2 separate regions of the Homo sapiens genome follow, and region 1 is linked to region 2. The links are contacts of gene promoters, found by promoter capture Hi-C in blood cells and fetal thymus (Javierre and others, 2016). All regions are on one chromosome and are shown on one strand. The core of a region is centred on a gene start or on the middle of the fragment in contact, and the rest is flanking DNA. Distances in the headings are between cores, read along the strand shown. Region 1 holds the start of APOD (apolipoprotein D). Region 2 holds the start of MUC4 (mucin 4, cell surface associated).

What was found. The method cuts DNA at HindIII sites, captures the fragments that hold promoters and counts their contacts. A CHiCAGO score of 5 or more calls a contact.
Region 1: a contact is called between a fragment that was not itself captured here and the fragment with the promoter of MUC4 in region 2, in 1 of 17 cell types (M0 macrophages). The highest score is 5.4, in M0 macrophages.

Annotation. Positions count from the first base shown.
Region 1 is chr3:195,582,201-195,585,860 of GRCh38, forward strand. APOD (apolipoprotein D) reads right to left here and starts at 1,740. Exons shown (of 5, transcript NM_001647.4): 1 at 1,678-1,740. RefSeq lists an enhancer at 1,191-1,360. The HindIII fragment of the contact is 796 bases long and covers 860-1,655 here.
Region 2 is chr3:195,809,879-195,813,504 of GRCh38, forward strand. MUC4 (mucin 4, cell surface associated) reads right to left here and starts at 2,051. Exons shown (of 25, transcript NM_018406.7): 1 at 1,858-2,051. The coding sequence starts at 1,939. RefSeq lists an enhancer at 1-311. The HindIII fragment of the contact is 16,144 bases long and covers 1-3,626 here.

The DNA of each region.
Region 1 (3,660 bases), core at 8-2,507, 230 kb before region 2:
AGCAAACAAACAACAACAACAAAAAAACTCCTTGTGAGAGAAAGGGCGGACAGCATCCATTATAGTTTTCAATGTCCTTTCATTCTAATTTACTCATTACTTATTGAGCATGTTATTAATGTGTACTTAAGACTTTGGGTAACATATGGATTATATACGACATATATTTTTGCATCTTCTTCTGATATCAATAGGAAGATTGTTCTTATGAGGAGTTTAAATACTTTACAAAATAAGTATAATTTAAATATTATTTTTGGCCGGGCATGATGGCTAATGCCTGTAATCCCAACACTTTGGGAGGCCGAGGTGGGCAGATCACTTGAGGTTAGGAGTTTGAGACCAGCCTGGCCAACATGGCGAAACCCCGTCTCTACTAAAAATACAAAAAATTAGCCAGGTGTGGTGGCAAGTACCTGTAATCACAGCTACTCGGGAGGCTGATGCAGGATAATTGCTTGAACATGGGAGGCAGAGGTTGCAGTAAGCCAAGATCACACCATTGCACTCTAGCTTGGGCAACAGAGCAAAAACTCCATCTCAAAAAAACAAAACAAAAACAAACAAACAAAAAATACAAAAATTAGCTGGGCATGGTGGTGCAGTCCTGTAATCCCAGCTACTTGGGAGGCTGAGGCACAAGAATGGCTTGAACCTGGGAGGCGGAGGCTGTAGTGAGCCGAGATCGCGCCACTGCACTCCAGCCTGGGTGACAGAGTGAGACTCCGTCTCAAAAAAAAAAAAAAAGAAATATGATTTTTAACAGAATATGAGGTAATTAAAAAGCAATCCAACTAAGGTGACAGTGCATCCACCTTGGGCCTGGCACTAGCTGGAAATCACTGCTCCACTTGCATTAAGCTTACCCGTGGAGAAGCCCTGGTCCCAGGATTTTAAGGGTGCTATGCGCTCAGTCTCCACAGCACCTCCTCTGGAGGCGACCTCTGCTGACACTCTCTTCATACCAACGAGGTGAATTTGCCCGGGTTACTTCCTGGTAAACTACGAAGCCACAGTGTAAGCCTAGGCCTGGGGACAGGCTAGAATGTAAGCCTAGGTCTCCCACAAGCCCGCGCTCTTAGTGCCTGGGGACACAGCCCCTGACCTCAAAGATCTGCAGAACGTGAAGGACTAGATTTTGAAATTTCACCTCATAAAATAAAATAGGTTCCAATAAGTCATTAGGTCTCAAAGACTCATTTAGCCATTAAATATAACAAGACACGTATCTCCCAAACACAATATTTTATGCCATATTGTCAAATGCATTTTCTAGTCACACCATTAATTCCAGTTTCCAGATTATTTTACTGCGATGCACCGTTGGACAGCTTGCTGAGAATTCACCTAGGACGGTGTTTGTGCATGGAAACACCTCGTTGTCCAGTTTGGAGGGGTAAGCAAAAGACGCTGGGATGAGTTCACACTGGGTTTGGTTTTATCTTAGGCATGTTGCTAGTGTATCTGAACCTCAGCTTTATCACTGGAAAAATGGCTCTGATGATACCTACCTTGTACATTTGTTTGAGGAAAAATGAGAACAAGTCTAAAGCTACCGGCACAAGCTCTCAATCAGTGGTAGTTATATGTAGCTGAAATGGGGCAATGGAGAGTCTAGACTGTTTCTATTTTAGACATTATTATCATAAATGAAAAGCTTAAAACTACAGTACATACCTTTTCTTTCAAGATGAAGGCAGTTTCCAGATGCAGAATCAGCCGATTTGAGATGCCTGTCTTGGTGACTGGCCTCTCCCAAGCTATTTTATAAGCTTCTTCAGGTCTCTGATGTTTACTTTTCATGCATGCCACGCCCGCCGCCCCCATCCAGTCAGGAGGGTTGGCCTAAAAGCTTAGTCTGTATCGAAACACAAAGATGGGATGTTGTGTCCATCCTCCTCCCCCGATTTCCTTCACAGCTGCTCCCTGAAGAAGAAATGAGATATTGTTTTCGCGCGCGCGTGTGTGTGTGTGTGTGTGTGTGTGGGTATGTGTGCGAGAGAGAGAGAGAGTATGTGTGAGAGAAAGATAAAGTATATTTTCATCCAAAACATTTTTTTTTTTGCTATGTGGATTTTCTAATTTAATTTTTTTGGTCAGAATGCACTTTTAAGTTCCAGCAGGACGTGTTGCAACATGTTTTCAAACATCTGGTATTTATTTTTCATTTTTGTGTAAATGAAAAATCAACAAGCTCATTTCCTGAAGTGGAACATGGAGTTCCTGACTCCACTAATGGGAGTCAGGTAATGGCGCGAGGGTTATGAGTCAAAGCTGGCTTTCTCCAGGATCCTGGGCAGCCCCCTAACTTCTCTGAGCCACAGTCTCCTCGTTGTAAGTAGGGGCTGTCATTCTTTCTCCACCAGAGCCAGACGTGTAGGGGAGATACCAGTTCTCTAACAACTGGGGCTAAAAGTTGAGAATGCAGAAGACATCTTCTGTCGCTCTGTTCTCTGTCCCTTTTATGACCCTTGCAGCGAGAAGTTCAAGACAGTCTGTCACTGCTTGGGGGTGGGGGCCGGGGTGGTGGGGAGTGTGGACTTAAACCCAGGGGTGCTTTTGGTCCAGCCTTATCTCTCCTGGTGGAATGAACAACTTTGACTCTTGTGAGTGAGATTCTATGTCTTTGTGATAGGCAGGAGGTATGTTTAGAGACATTTAGATAAGGCAGTGCCTTCGTAGTAGACTTAGACTCCTAAATGAAATTCATTCTAAAATATGTAAGCAACAGAGATACATTTACAGCACTGAGTCTATAAACATGAAAACAACAACACAGATCCGTAACATCCCAAACGTTGTGAGCGCTTTCTTTAAGATGTTCTTTGCCTTTTCAGAAACATAAGAAATTCCTACTACCACCCAGGGCCTGCCTCTCGCTGACCTCCTGTGCTGCCCTCCCCTAAGAGCTCTGTGTAGCTCCCTTCCCCACTCCAGGTCCCTGATCAGATGACACTTTTCCCTAAAAAGCTTCCTGACCTTTCAAAAATAGCACTCTTGTCACTGTCCCTTTCCCTGCTTCATTATATCTTTACCTGAAATTCTCTCCTTTATTTATACATTATCCTGCTTAGTATGTTTTCCCCAGGAGGATAGGAGCTTGAGGCGTGCCAGGAGTTTGTCTCTTTGACTCTGTGTTGTGCCCCAGTGGCTAAGCACATACTAAGTGCTCAGTAAATACTTATAAATTAAATGGATGCTATCCAAAGAACTTAATGAGTTTCTAAGATATACAAAAGGCCCCAGAGGTAATATTCACGCGATTTTGATTTCAATTGTATTTCTGGAGAAGCACTAGCCTGTATGTTTCTGTCTTCTTCACCTGTATCACATTTGCCACCAAGAATTGCCTGTCATTGAAGAAATACACAGTTAGCCTCTTTTCAGCCTATTACAAAAAATTCTCTCTCCTCTAAGCAGTTGCACAGTTTTCCACAAAGCACTGTTGCCTAAGTTTCCAAATATGTATGTTGGAGTTGGAGATATCTATGTATTTTAGCCCTCAGCACTGAAGTCGGCAACCATGGAGCTGAAGGTCCAGGTCTAGGAGTCACAGCGGGAGAAAAGCCACACGATCTTCCTAGGTCTCAGTTCATTTTTTCTGTAAATATTGGTAAGTGATATATTCCTTAGGGAAATCCTCTCTTCACATGTTTCTGG
Region 2 (3,626 bases), core at 801-3,300:
GGGGCAGGGCCTGGTCACAGGGGCCAGAACAGTTCACGGCAAAGACTTGGCCCTGGGGCTCCTAAATCCAAGCTGCCTCCCCGGCGCCCCAAGCCCCAGCCTCGCTCTGGGAGTCATGATTCCCGTGGAGACTCCTTCAACCACATCTGCAGGGCAGGGCCGTGTGGCGGCTCCTTCCGGCCTCCACGTCCTCACGGTGGGATGAGCACTGGAGCGGGGTTGTGTGGCCAGGGTGGGGTGGGGGTGCTGGAGGGTGGGGAGGTGTAGGGAGGTGGTGGCAGTTTCCTTTGCCCTCAGCCTAGTCCTGAAACATCCCGAGGTGGAAGGGTCCGCTTCACCAGCATGGCTTCTCTTGCAGCCTTTAAACGGCACTCGCCTTCTGACTCACTCCCAGGAAGCTCCTCAAATATGCGCCCAAGAAATATTTTCCCTCGGCGACTGTTCTTAGCCTGCTGAGAGGCAGGGCAGGAGCTGAGACTCTAACCCCAGCTTGAACTCTGGACCCCAGACTCTCCCCCAAAGACTCAGACACCCAGAAACACAGAATAAAACTTGGTCCTGAAGCCAGAGGGACAGCCTGGAAAGTGTGGGGAAGAGGACGGGGGCCCCCGAGGGAACATCTCCCACAGGCCTGGCATCCCTCCCCTCCCAGCTCTGTACACGGAGGAGCCCAAGGCCAATGCCGGGGCTACGAGCCCCAGGCAAGGCCGTGACCCAAATGGAGGCTTTTAAACCCGAGCTCAGAGGTAAGAAGCCCACGGCCAGCACCTCCCGGCCCTCTGCGCCCTGGCCGCCTCCTCCGCACCACCCTCCCGGCCGGCCTGCCCCTCTCCTCCTTGTCGCTTCCCTTGCTTGCTGCTGTCTCCCGATCTTCTCCTCTCTCCATTCCCAGGGTCCTCAGTTTGTCTGCGTCTCACCTGTCTCGTCCTCTCACCCTGCAGCTTTACATGAGTTTTCTTCCGTCTCCATCACCCAGCTTTCCTGGCATCCCCTCTACCCCCAGCTCTGTACACAAGGGTGTACATCTTTCTCCTTGACTCTGTTCCTCTTGCTCTGGCTCTGCCTGTCTTTCTCTCTGCGAGTAAGCCTGGGCTCTCACCATGGATCCTTCCAGACATCGCCGGGCTGCTCTCTGGCCCTCTGTTCTCTTTTCTCTCTCTTTCGAGCATTCTCCCTCTGTCTTTCCCCTCAGATCTTGTCCCGTATCTGCCAGTTCATGCCTCCTCTTCCCCACTTTTCTCCTCTTCTTATTTTTTATTTTATTTTATATTTATTTATTTATTTATTTATTTATTTATTTATTTATTTATTTTGAGACAGAGTCTCGCTCTCTCTCCCAGGCTGGAGTGCAGTGGCGCGATCTTGGCTCACTGCAACCTCCACCTCCCAGGTTCAAGTGATTCTCCTGCCTCAGACTCCTGAGTAGCTGGAATTACAGGTGGGGCCCACCACGACCGGCTAATTTTTGTATATTTAGTAGAGACGGGGTTTCACCATGTCGGCCAGGCTGGTCTCGAACTCCTGACCTCAGGTGATCTCCTGCCTTGGCCTCCGAAAGTGCTGGGATTACAGGCATGAGCCACCGCGCACGGCCTCCACTCTTCTTTCTCTCTCCCTCTTCTCTTCCTCTTCTTTCCCTCTCTGGGTCTCTCTCCACCTTCCCCCCATGTTGTCCCATTCATCTCTTTCTCCTTTCCCTCTCCCTCTTTTTCTCTCCCTTCTCTTCCTCTTCGCTGTCTCCCTTTCCCCTATTCTCTCTCTCTCTCTCTCTGTCTCCCCGGACCTCTTTCTCTGACAGCTCCCACCTCCCCCAAGTGCTCCCCGCAGCCAGCCTCATCTGCTGTCTCCATCACTTACCTGGGACCACATGCGGAAGGAGGCAGAGACACAGGCAGCTCAGGGACACCCAGGGGACCCTCCTCCAGCGTGCCCCCTTCATGGCTGCGGCAAAAGTCCCCCTGGCTCCCTGGGGAAGCTCCACGGCCCAGCAGCTGCAGTGTGAGGAGCAGACGTGAGCCCGTCCCCTCAGGCGGCTGGCCCGAACCAAGTGCGTTTCTCCGAAGGGGCCAGGGAACCTGGGAAGAGGACAAAAGAGGGCGGGGCCCCACGCTAATCACCCTTTTCTCTCCTCAGCCCCACCCCACTACCCCACCAGGAAAGAAAACACCGATACACCCGTTGCTCTGCTTCTCATCAGCCTGAGCTGAGTGGCGGGAGGGATGGGAGGAGACATGGGGGAATGGGAACAGGTCACACTGGAAATGGGTGGGCCACCCTCCTAGCCGGGTTCCTGGGTCCTCTCCTCCCTCCCCAGGGGCTGCCCCTGTCCCACCAGAGCTTTGGGCTGCTGGGAAGAATGGGGAAGAAAGGGCCCCAGAGGGAGCGACCTTGGGGCTGTATGAATGGGGGAAAGAGAGTGAGACTTAAGCAGACCCCAAGGAATTGGGAAGCGGGGAACCATGTGGGTGAGGGGCAGGAACAGAAATGCACTGTATGCCGTCTTTTGGAAAGGGGTGGTGTGCTTGGAATATCTGCTCAGTGCAGGCGCGTGGCAGACCCCAGACGCGTGGCAGACCCCAGACGCGTGGCAGACCCCAGACGCGTGGCAGAACCTCAGTGCAGATGCGTGGCAGACCCCAGACGCACGGCAGATCCCAGACACATGGCAGACCCCAGACCCATGGCAGACTCCAGACGCGTGGCAGACCCCAGACGCGTGGCAGACTCCAGACGCATGGCAGAACCTCAGTGCAGACTCGTGGCAGAACCTCAGTGCAGACGCATGGCAGACCCCAGATGCGTGGCAGACCCTCACCAGATGGTGGACTTCTTCTTTCCAGGGCAGGGAGCTGGAGCCAGGGTGCAGGGAGCCAGGGACAGTCTGGGAGACTGGCCTGAGGGAGCTGGCATGGGCAGTGGGTTGAAGGCAGAACCTCGGTAGGAGGAAGCGACTGTAACCTGTGAGGAGGTGGAGCTGCTCCTGGAGACCTGGGGGCTCTGCTCACCCCAGTTCCACCTCTTGGAACTCACAGGCACAAGCGAGGAGGGAAAGGGACCCCAAGTAGGGTTGTAAAGACGAAGAGGGCAGTTGGTGTAGCTCTCTGCAAAGGAAAACGGGGATACCTCCGCTCCCCTCTTTGCCACAGTGTGAATCTCTGCTTCTGATTCCTCAAGACTTGATTCCCGAATGTGGGGTGTCTGTGGGGTGACTCGTCCCAGAGCAGGGACCTTCGATGCTCAGACACTGTGGGGCCCAGGACAAGGACTCAGGGTTTCTGCATTCCCAAGCAGAGCCAGCCTTGTCCAGCAAGGAGTAGGCAACCGACGCTGTGGCGCTGTCTCCGAGGGTCACGGAGGCCCTGTGACCACTTGCTTCTAGAAGCTGAAAGTCTGTTCATGGCCCCAGGCCAAAGCCTGGGCCACGCCATAATAATGCGGATACCGTGGGGAAGTGGCGTGGTCCCCCAACAGTCCCTCCAGCTCTGGGTGGACGAGCTGACCCTGTTCTTTCCTGGAGGTAAGAAAATCATAAAGGTAAAGAGTCATGTGGAGCATCCTGTGGGCGCCTGGACGGGGCAGCAGGAGGGACCTACTGCAGGGAATTCGCAGACACCAAGGCCCAGCTT